Linked DNA regions of Homo sapiens: all the other regions are linked to region 3. The links are contacts of gene promoters, found by promoter capture Hi-C in blood cells and fetal thymus (Javierre and others, 2016). All regions are on one chromosome and are shown on one strand. Each heading gives the region's core, a stretch centred on a gene start or on the middle of the fragment in contact. The rest is flanking DNA. Distances are from core to core; before and after follow the strand shown. Region 1 holds the start of EGR4 (early growth response 4). Region 2 holds the start of CCT7 (chaperonin containing TCP1 subunit 7). Region 3 holds the start of MRPL19 (mitochondrial ribosomal protein L19). Region 4 overlaps FBXO41 (F-box protein 41).

Region 1 (2,700 bases), core at 113-2,612, 2.4 Mb before region 3:
CAGCAAGTCCTCAATCTTGGTCCCTATTACGGGAAAACGAGCCTCCGGGGCGGCCTGGTAGTCTCCCTGTGACCCACAGTTCCCTGGGGCCCCCACAGAAAGCAGCTCCCAGGGCGCGTAGGGACCCTTGAAGGCAGAGACAGCGTCCAGCGCTGGCGAGGCGGGAGGCGCCCGGAGGCCGGGCTTGACGTCGGGCGGGGAGAGCTGAGGCTCATACAGGCACTGCGAGGGGGCACCCGCGCAAGGCGAGGCCTCCCAGAACGCCTCTGGGAAAGGGGCAGCGCCCAGATCCGGGGAGTAAAGGTCCGGCGGACCCGGCAGCAAGGCATCGGACCCCGCAGGAAAAGGGGCATCCAGCGGGGATCTGGACGCTGCTGCCTCTGGACCGGGGAAGGGTGCCAGGCCTAAGATGCCCGACATGAGGTTGAAGAGTGCCTCCGGGTCGTGCGGGTGTTCGGGCACTGCCTGAATGAAGAAGCTACCGCTGTAGCTGAGGCCGGGAGGGGGTGTGGGCGCAGGCCCCTCCAGGAAGCAGGAGTCGGCTAAGTCCCCACTTGCGCCGCAGCTGTTCAAAGCCCAGCTCAAGAAGTCGCCTGCTGAGGAGGGAGCAGGAATCAGCTCTGGGCACATCAAAGGGTGCACCTGAGTCCACAGCCCCTACCTACAAAACTCTTGGTGCCCACGGATATACACAAAGTGCCTTTTGCACATTCTGATTCAGCAGGGGCCCGCATACGTCCCAAGGAGCACATAGAAACATGCACACGCAAAACACACGTGCACAGGCAAAAGGGCGCTCCGATAACCGCACAGGTTCCTGCGGAGGCGCTGGCGGCCCAGTGTGGGTGGGAATGGGGGTGCGCACCCCAGGACTCCTAAGCTTCCCATCGCCCCTATTCTCATAGCTCCAATGTCCCAGTCCCTCCTGGTTCTCAGGTATGGTGCGCCCCCGCGCTGCGCCGTCGTCGTCTGAGCACCCCTGCTCGCCCTCCTTACCTCCAGGGTAGCCGGTGGCCGCGGGAGCGTCCCTGGCAGGCAGCCGGGGCAATTCAGCGCTGGGTTCGGCGCAACAGCCTTCAGTGGACTTGACGAGGAGCGCGTCGGGTTCGGAAAACTCGCTAAGGTGGAGCATGGCGCGGCGCCGGCTGTGGGGCGCCCGGGGCCTCGCCCGCTGGGCTTGGGGGCGCGCGGGTGGCGGGGAGGCTGGCGGTAGGGGTTCCCCGCAGCGCACAGACCTAGGCGCCCGGGCTCCTGGCTTCGGGCACTCACCTCTGGGAAAGGAGTCGGGGAGCCGCGGCGCCCTCGCTCGCCCGCACCGGCCTCGGGCGGCGGCTCCTCGCCTCTCCAAAGCGCTGCCGGGCTCCCCCAGCCCACAGCCCCCCCACTTATATAGCTGCGGCGGCGCTGGCTCCGGGCTTCCGACTCCCCGGGCCACTGCCATTTTGGGAGGCCCCGGCCCTGCCGCCGTGACGTAAATGCCCAAACATGGACACAGGATGTGTGCCGGGGACTCCCGAAAAGGAAAGCTCGAGCTGTGACGTTGTTGTTGTCGCCGCCGCCGCCAGGCTCGCGCCGCTGCGTGCGCGCGCGCTCCCCAGGCGTGGAGCGCTGGGGCCGCGGATGCGCCAGTCTGGGGCGCTGCGCCTCACCGGGCCGACCGTCCGGTAGATGCGCTTCCCACCTGGAGGCAGAGGCCGAGGGGCAGCAGGGGAGGACCGTGTTGGGTTTGAATCTGCCCTCTGCCACTAACTAGCTTGACACTCAGTCCCCCTTAACGTCAGTTTCTCACCTGTGCATTTCCTGTGGAGAGAAACTGAGAGCACATAAATGTCCAGGCGCACTCAGTAAACCACAGAGATTATTGCCATTCATTTCTTTTGCTCACGCCTGTGTGTTTTTCCATTTTAAGTTTTTTTTTTTTAAATTTGTGCTAGGAAAAATAATTTAAATTAAAAAGGACTGTAATACTTGTTAACAGTAGGAGGAAAGTCAACTAGCACAACAGGGTATATTCTAAATTGAAAAGTAAAAGTCCCTCCTCTCCACCTACCTTCATTCCTAGCTCCTGAGGTAGCCACATTTAAGTTTCTTGGGTATTCTTTCAGAAGAATTTTATGTATATCCAACCATACACATTGTTCTGCAATATTATTATTATTATTATTTTTTCACTTGAAATAACTTAGAGATTGTGCCATGTCCTGACATAAAGATCTTGTCATTCTTTTTCAAGGCTGTATAGTACTCCATTGTAAGGGAGGACCTTGAGTTAGTCGATTTGTCCCCTATCCATGAGCATGTAGGCAGTTTCCAACTTTTTACTTATACCAATGTTGTTGGAGTCAACATCCTTGACTATATAAATGTGAATGTGTCTGTGAGATAAATTCCAACGAGTGTAATTGTGTGCCAAAGTATATGTAAAATTTTGATAGACAACTGGCAAATTGTCTTCCAGAAAAGTAGGGCCAATTCCTGCTCACTCCTCCCTCACCCACAGGGTATGAGATGCTTCTGCAGAACATTTTTTCTGCCTTCATACAAATGGCTTTCGCTCTAAGGATGTTGATCCCAGCAACACACAGGGAATCCGTGGGAAATATCTCCCTGGAATCAGTACTTGAAATAATTGGGCTTCTTTTGAGAAAAAAAAAAAAAATCCTAGCCTTAAGGAGGCTGTGAATCTTGGCTGCAGAAGCA
Region 2 (2,700 bases), core at 142-2,641, 2.4 Mb before region 3:
TTCTGTCATCAGTAAAATGGCCTTAATAGGACCAACGCAATAGGGTTGTGAGGATTAAATGAGATCGCTCACGTAAAGTGCTTTGGCACCAGCCTATCCCACACTTTGCGTCCCACACTTTTGCCTTTATTGCATTCCTTGGTCTGGCGTCCGGGGATGGAGGAGGGTGGAATTAAGTTAGTAGGTGATGCGGGCCGAGCAAAGACCCTCCGTGCTCTAAGAAGCACGACCGAAATGCGGCGACCCCTCTTTAATGAACGCCCCTCACTAGAGAGTCCCCGAAGCCCAGCCTCAGGTCCTTCTAGCCGCACCGAGTCGGTGGTAACGAACCATAGAGTAGCGGAAGTGGTCCGTTCTCTTCCTCTCCCGGCCCAAGCTTCTGGGTATTTCTATTGCGCGAGGCATTGTGGGTTGCTGGGCGGCCCGGTCTCGGAGAAGAGGGGAGAGTGGCGGGCCGCTGAATAAGCTTCCAAAATGATGGTGAGTGGCGTCTCGCGCATCCGTCGCCATCAGCTGCCATCTGGCCGGTGGCCGGCGCCGCTCGGCCTGGGCTTGCTCTGTAGGACCCTCTTTTGCTTGCCGCCTCTGTCCTCGCCCAGATCCCCAGCTTAGGGGCGACCCCAGCCAGCCGCGGCCTGGCTCGGCCCGAGCACGGCGCTGGAGCCGTTGGCGAGGGCTGCGTGGGGCTTTAGAGGAGTCTCTGGGCTGGCCGGTTGGGGACTACAAGTCCCAGGGTGCTTCGGGCCCGCGAACCCACGTCGGGGACCTCTTTTTTAGCCCCGCATGATCGGGACTTGCGTGAAACGAGTGCAGGTCGGCCGTGGTTACGCGGTCGGCAGCTAGACTTGGAAGCTGGGGCTGCTCTGAGATTTGCGGGCTGTAAAGACGTGTGCTTCTTGGAACCGGCACAGGCACATTGGGGACCTCATATTGTGCCCGCCTAGGGACTCACTATGTTCACTCGCTGACCCTCACCGCAGCGTGCAGAGAAGCAGACGCCTTCCCTAGTACTTTTAATTCATTCACTCATTCGCTCAGTCATTAAATAAACGCGTCTTTAGTGCCTACTGAATGTACCAGGCCCTGGTGGTTGCTGGGGGTTGCAGCCTCTCAGCCAGGAGAACGGGAAAGGTAGATGGAGACACTGTATCGGAGGTGGGAAGACCCAGGCTCGGACTCTGGTGACATAAGAAAGGCTTTTCTAGTTGGCTACCTAACTCTGGGTCTCGTTTTCTTGAAATTTGGGGCGAGGGAGTTGCTGTGAGTCCTGGAGCCACCTAAAGTGCTCCTTGTAGCCCTACTTCCCACACTTCTTTTCTCTGTCTCTCGGAGCTTTAGATACTTTCCGTGGGTCCCAAGCCTCGATGGTATCTCCTGGGTTGTTATTGAGTAGGGCCAGCTTCCGAGGTGGTGTTTGACCCTGACTGAGATACTGCTTTCTGTGCACTTGGCAGTTCACTTATTCATTTTGGCCTGTCCGACTCTATCTTCTGCTCTTTTCCTGCTTCCTGCAGCTTTTCTCTGTCCTGTTAGGGACGCAGACACCTTTTAGGTGTTCTACCAAATGCCCTATGAATCCCGCTTGTACCCAAGGTAGAAGGAAATTAGCATTTAACAGTACTTCCTCTCCCCTTTATGTCTCTAGCATTGCTCATTCTTGAAGTCGTCTTCATCTTCTGTGCAGAGGCAGCATAGTACAGCAGTTGAGAGTAAGGCCTCTGGAGCTACACTGAATGCCTAGGTTTGTAACTTAGCTCTGCCACTTACTAGCTGTGTGACTTTGAGCATGTTATTTAATTTCTGGTTCTCAGTTTGTCAGTGTGCCTAGCAGATAGTAAGCACTCAGCAATGTTAGCTCTTACTCGGCGAGGTGGTTGTTTGCTTCCTTTCATCTCTGAAATCAGTCCATCCCGCTGCCAGGGCTTCCGTAAGAGCTTTGGTTCACATTCACACAGCTAGGGATCAGAACCGCCATTCTCTGCCGTGATAAAACTTCACCAGTGGGCTCTAGATCATCACACTTGGATTTTCCCTGAACTGACCCCTCCTCTGTCAGATTGACGTTTCCCTGCTGTATTGGCTCTTGATATCTCCTCCCCATTTTTGGAATGTGAAACTTCTATCTCCAAGAGTCTTCCTGTCTTCAAATTGGCCCCTGATATTCTAGAATACTTCTGTAATCGAAAGAGAGGTGAAAAGGTCCCCTGAAACCTCAGTCCTGTGATGTTGGTACAGCTTGCATAAAATGTATGTCCTTGCCTTTGTGGCGTTGAGCGCTGTGTGCCTTGGCATAGACACACTTGTTTTGTAAGCCATTAAGCTTAATGATGCTTAGTGAAAGTTTTAAAGTAGGATGAAGAGGAAGATCAGTAAGCTGAAATTCCAAAACCTTCCATTATACCTGTGGCCAATTACTGGAGTCTGCTCTTGTTTCTTTTTCTTTTTTTTTTTTCCCGAGATGGAGTCTTGCTCTGTTGCCCAGGCTGGAGTGCAGTGGCACCATCTTGGCTCACTGCAACCTCCATTCCCAGGTTCAAGCAATTCTCCTGCCTCAGCCTCCCAAGTAGCTGGGATTACAGGCATACGCCACCACGCCTGGCTAATTTTTGTATTTTTAGTAGAGACGGGGTTTCACCGTGTTGACCAGGCTGGTCTCGAACACCTGACCTTGTGATTCACCCACCTTGGACTCCCAAAGTG
Region 3 (2,700 bases), core at 181-2,680:
ATAGCCAATACTGGGAAGGAAGTCTGGAGCTGAAAAAGATGAACTCAGTATGGATAGGCTGAATTTGAGGTAGCTTTGGGACATTAATGCAACTGGAATGACTATTATGTAGTTAAATTATCACATTACTCTAAGTGTTCAATCCTTATATAACCACTGCTGAAATAACAAATTCCAAATTTCTTTTTTTGTGTGTGTTTCTTTTTCTGTTTTTTTGAGACGGAGTTTCGCTCTTGTTGCAATGGCGCGATCTCGGCTCACTGCAACCTCTGTCTCCCAGGTTCAAGCGATTCTCCTGCCTTAGCCTCCCAAGTAGCTGGGATTACAGGAGCCTGCCACCACACCTGGATCATTTTTTTTATTTTTGGTAGAAACGGGGTTTCACTATGTTGGCCAGGCTAGTCTCAAACTCCTGACCTCAGGCGATCTGCCCGCCTCGGCCTCCCAAAATGCTGGGGTTAAAGGCGTGAGCCACTGCGCCCGGCTGTGTGTTTGTTTCTTAGAGATACGGTCTCACTATATTGCCCAGGCTGGTTTCCAACTCATGAGCTCAAGGGACCCTCCTGTCTCGGCCTCCCACAGTGCTGGGATTACAGGCATGCCTGGCCACGCCCAGTCATTTTCCAAATTTCTTAACAAGACTTACAATTTACCTTTTCCAGCTTTACTTCTCCCACCTATCCATACCCACAGTTGCCCAGCCCAAATTCATTTGGGTTCCTCAAAGGGTTAATGCTTTGTGTAGTCTCAAGGACTATGGGCCAGCAGTTCTGTCAGGAACTATTCTATTCTCTTTTCTGTGCATTCAGCAAAGAATTAGAAAAATTAGCTGGGCGTGATGGTGCGAGACTGTAGTCTTGGCTACTCGGGAGGCTGAGGTGAGAGGATCTCCTGACATCAGGAGTTGGAGGCTGCAGAGCCATGATCGCGCCACTGCACTCCAGCCTGGGTAACAGAGGAAGACCTTGTCTCAACAAAACAAAAGATGTTAGTGAGGGCCCAGGTAGGTGCTAGGTGCTGGGATAACATGGTGAGCAAAAAGAAGACTTTATCCCTTCCCTTGCCTCATTATAGTATAATGGCAGATTTAAATACTAATCTAATAATTACACAAGAAAGAATTGCAAATGAGATCAGAGCTGCCAATCGAAGGCACCCAGTGGGAAAGACGGCCTACAATGGGATTTTCGCATAGCGAAAGCTTGTCTGAGAAGATAGAGTGGATTCATAGGGGGAGGAAAAAGCTTTCTAGGCTGGGAGAACACCCCTGTGGAGGGGTGTAACTTGGCGCATTACGAGGAACTAGAGAAACGTGCACTTTTCCTAAGACATCAGGAAAGGAGCGAGGAGAGACTTATCCATTTTGTCCCATAGCAGCCGCCATATGGTGGCAGACAGCAACAACCTCGTCGCACTGATTACTGGGAGCTGTAGTCTTGACGTGAGCTAGCTGGCATGGCGGCCTGCATTGCAGCGGGGCACTGGGCTGCAATGGGCCTAGGCCGGAGTTTCCAAGCCGCCAGGACTCTGCTCCCCCCGCCGGCCTCTATCGCCTGCAGTAAGTGGAGCCGGACTTGCGAGCTGGGGCGCGTTAGGGGCCCAGGGTCAGGATGGGGGAGGCGAACCTGGAGATCAGAGGCAACCCCAGCGTTGGTCCCCCGTGGGACGCCGGGTTGGGGGAGATTGCGGGGCTCTGCGGGATCTCAGGGTTGGCACGAGAGTTCTGACCTCCGTCGTCCGCTCCCGCAGGGGTCCACGCGGGGCCTGTCCGGCAGCAGAGCACTGGGCCTTCCGAGCCCGGTGCGTTCCAACCGCCGCCGAAACCGGTCATCGTGGACAAGCACCGCCCCGTGGAACCGGAACGCAGGTGAGGCACTGCCCTGGCGCTAGGCCGGCAACTGGGGTCGGTGCGCGCGTGAGCGCGTTCGCGTTCGAGGTCCCGGCTCTAAGGTGGGGGCTGCACCTCCCCCTGCACGAGCAGGTGTGTAGGATTCAAGAGCCAGCGCACCACACTGTTCTTTCTTTCTCACTTCTCCCCAAGCCAGCATTGAACTTCTTTGCAGTTTTATTGAGTCAGAACTTCAAGTAGGGGTTCCCCATATTTTAAACTCTTTTCTCTGTGGTATTTGTCCTGTACCAGAGTTTTTCTCTGAGGTATATCCTGTTTATACCTGTTTACGTCCAAGAGCTCTTCTTTTCTCTCAAAAGACCCTTAACCCTGGATAGGAATCGATTGGCCAACTTAAAAAATTTGCTATGGTTTAGGTTGGAAGTTTTGGCAGACAAAGCACAGTAAAACTGGCCACTAAATTGTGTCTGAAACTTACTCATCAAAATAGTGTGAATAAAAACTTATATGAATGGTGGTAATCTTGGAGGTACATGTAAATTTAAAGGACTTAAGGTCTGAAAAGAGAGCTATGTAGCAACCTTTTTAAAAAGCCAGTTTTCAGAGGAAAAACCTGATATGATTATAGGCTTTTTGAAAGGGCTGTAGATTATTGATTGGATTACTTCTGGGATTTTTAATTTTTTTATTTTTTAAATTTTTTTTAGACAGAGTCTCTCTCAGTCTCCCAGGCTGGAGTGCAGTGGTGATTTTAGCTCACTGCAGCCTCAAATTTCTGGGCTCAAGTGATCCTCCCGCCTCAGGCTCCAGAGTAGCTGGAACTACTGGTACCACGCCTGGCTTTTTTTTTT
Region 4 (2,700 bases), core at 2-2,501, 2.4 Mb before region 3:
GTAGAAAAATGTCAGGATGTTGGGAGTGTCTTTCCAACGGCCTCAGTAAGGTCCAACAAGCAAGAGACACACTCTGGTTGAAAGGAGCCCATCTGAAAGCAGAGAGGAAGAAAATTTGGGCTTGCCCAGAGAGGCCCTTTCTGCCTGCAGCCAGTAATTCAATATGGCTGAGAGTCAGATAATTAAGAGCCAGTTCTTTGCTTCAAGCTAAAGTCAGCTCAAGCGAAGACAAAGAGGCTGGGAACTAAGAGGGAGATAAGCCTGGGGCCTGACAGGTACTCAACTCCTTGGGCCCTGCTGAACCCTTCCTGCTGTGCCCTCCCAGCTGGACAGAAGCTTCCATTATAAGCAGCCTTCCATTGGGATGCAGCTTCAGTGAGAAGGGGCAGATGACCTTTTGCCTCCCTCCCCAAAGTTGGAGTTTGCTTTGCCCTGTGGCAGAGGCCCAGTTAGAGGCTGCAGAACCAAGGGCTCCTGGGATGGGCAGAACACTGAGGCCTGTTGCTAAGAGATAACCCCTCCCTCCTTCTACACCACCACCAGGGACTTCATTCAAGAACCATAACTTTCATAGAGGTCTCTAGCTTTGGTTAATAGCTCTGGGGATAACCAAATGCAAACTGACTGAAAAGCCTCCCAGGGATTAAGGGGATTGTATTGCCAGAAAGCCCCCACAAACCAAAGGATTGCTCAGCCCCTATGGTTGCCCTGAACCTCCCCAAACATGCACCCTTCAATGCCCCTCTCACAGAGACAGCAAAATCAGAGCAGTGAGATTGGTGTACCAGGAAACCTCTTCCTCACCATTCAGTCAAGCATGTGGACCACGGTCCAGGTTTTTTTCCTCACCCCCCTCTTCAACTAGGAGGGTTTTTCTTCTTCCAGCTATACAGTTTTCTCTCCATCATTGTAGTTGGGCCTTAAATGGAAAGACCATGACCTTAGTACCTAACCAAACAAACAGCCCCTTGCCATTGCCAAGATGTTGAATTGGGGATAGATGTGGTAACTGGGTGAAAACTTGGAATGTCTCCTCCCAGAAGTGGGATAACTGTGCTTTAAGTTTGGTGAGGGATAGTTGCATTATGATAAACAGGAAAATATTTTTTAAAATTACACAGTAAAGGGGGTCTGTGTCGATCTTTGACATCTAAGAAGTGAAATACAGTGGACTTTTATTGTTTTTGCTGCCCGGCTCTAGTCCCTCTTTATTGTGAATTGATCCCCAATTTTCCCTTTGAGAACCATTGCCTGCACTTTGAATAGATTTGGGTAGGGCTGACAGCTTCCATTGGCTCCCAGGGAACACACATGACCTCAGTCTGTTCCATTAGAATCACAGTGGTCAGGTCAGTAATGGACTCATTTCTCAGTCTGGGCCGATACAGTCACTTCGGGAGCTGTGCTCAGTTGGTAGGCTGTGAGCCTGGAGCCTCTTGTGGCCATTTTTGCCCTGTCTTTGAGACAAAAGTAAAGGACCCCTGATGATATTTGAGCATCCACATCCAGATGTGCCTGAAGCTCTAACCCAGGACTTGACCATTGAGAAGGGCTGCAAATGTTTTTGTAGCTTTTATCATTTGGGTCGGTTGCCAGTCTCTAGTAATGAGACTCCAGACTAACACAATGGCCCACAGTGTCAAAAACAAATCCCAGACTTCTCCTCACCTACTACCCAGCACCCCTGTTTCCTTTGGTGTTACTGTCCTCCCAGCCACAGCACTGGCCATCTTGATTTTTCTCTCTGCTAACCATCAAGACCTACTGGTTTTTCCTTCCAAGTGCTTTCAACCCAACTGTTCTTTTCTCATGCTTTGTACTCTTCCAGGCCACAACCTCATCACATCTAGACTGCTGGCCCAGCCTTCAGTCCCGCAGCTCCATTCCATCTGTAAAGGCATCGGATTCCTCTGCTCAGACTCCTTCAAGGGCACCCCCATCCACTACCAACTGCAGCCAAACTCCTCAGCTTCACGATCTGGCCCCTGTGCTCTTGCCAATTTGAAACTGGAAAGTGGCCTGGCTGTTTCACTTGCATGTCCTTGATTGTGATGGCTGGACAGTTTTTCACACATACACTGGCCATTTCTATCTCTTTGGTAACTTGCCTGTGCACTACTTTGCTCATTTTCATACTGAACATTCATATTTTCTTATCGATTTACAAAAGCTTTTAATATTATTGATCCTGTGTCATTTATATACCTCAAATATTTTTCTCAAGTGTGTTGATTGGCTTTTACTTTTGTTTATGGTCTTTATTGATATACTAGAGTTTTAAATTATGCCGCCGTAAAATCGGATTTTGTTATTATGCTTAGGAAATCTCTCCCTACCCAGAGATTATAAACAGTTACATATGTTTTCTTTCGATACTTGTGATTTCCTTTTTTTAAAATTCCAGAATATTTTTTAGAATTAAGGGCTTTAAACAAATAGCCCTAATACCATAGACTGACAATGACTTGGTAGTATTAAATACTTTAGGCTGTATGATTTCCTTTTTCCTTTTGGATTTTTTTTTGTTTGTTTGTTTTTAGAAACAGGGTCTCACTATGTTGCCCAGGCCGGTCAGAAAGTGCTAGGCTCAAATGATCCACCCACCTCAACCTCCCAAAGTGCTGGGATTATAGGCCTGAACCATTGCATCTGGCCTACATTTGGATTTTTTTTTTCTTTTTTTTTTTGGAAACGGAGTAT

The links. Contacts are between HindIII fragments. The CHiCAGO score rates a contact against its expected background, and 5 or more counts as called.
Region 1: a contact is called between the fragment with the promoter of EGR4 here and the fragment with the promoter of MRPL19 in region 3, in 4 of 17 cell types (naive CD8 T cells, activated CD4 T cells, total CD8 T cells and 1 more). The highest score is 8.4, in naive CD8 T cells.
Region 2: a contact is called between a fragment that was not itself captured here and the fragment with the promoter of MRPL19 in region 3, in 6 of 17 cell types (total B cells, monocytes, fetal thymus and 3 more). The highest score is 12.3, in total B cells.
Region 4: a fragment that was not itself captured here is called in contact with the fragment with the promoter of MRPL19 in region 3 in 1 of 17 cell types (M0 macrophages); the score reaches 6.2 in M0 macrophages.

The regions. Positions count from the first base shown.
Region 1 is chr2:73,292,186-73,294,885 of GRCh38, forward strand. It overlaps EGR4 (early growth response 4), which reads right to left and starts at 1,363. Exons shown (of 2, transcript NM_001965.4): 1 at 997-1,363; 2 at 1-596. The coding sequence starts at 1,132. RefSeq lists a silencer at 1,646-1,725. The HindIII fragment of the contact is 1,844 bases long and covers 879-2,700 here.
Region 2 is chr2:73,233,905-73,236,604 of GRCh38, forward strand. CCT7 (chaperonin containing TCP1 subunit 7) reads left to right here and starts at 404. Exons shown (of 12, transcript NM_006429.4): 1 at 404-480. The coding sequence starts at 475. RefSeq lists enhancers at 1-410, 52-101, 222-291. The HindIII fragment of the contact is 1,854 bases long and covers 465-2,318 here.
Region 3 is chr2:75,645,353-75,648,052 of GRCh38, forward strand. MRPL19 (mitochondrial ribosomal protein L19) reads left to right here and starts at 1,431. Exons shown (of 6, transcript NM_014763.4): 1 at 1,431-1,558; 2 at 1,750-1,867. The coding sequence starts at 1,456. RefSeq lists enhancers at 1,231-1,525, 1,361-1,660. The HindIII fragment of the contact is 2,636 bases long and covers 1,243-2,700 here.
Region 4 is chr2:73,272,211-73,274,910 of GRCh38, forward strand. All of the region lies in intron 1 of FBXO41 (F-box protein 41), which reads right to left. Among named protein-coding and RNA genes, the nearest start is that of FBXO41, 11 kb to the right of the region's middle. The HindIII fragment of the contact is 1,834 bases long and covers 335-2,168 here.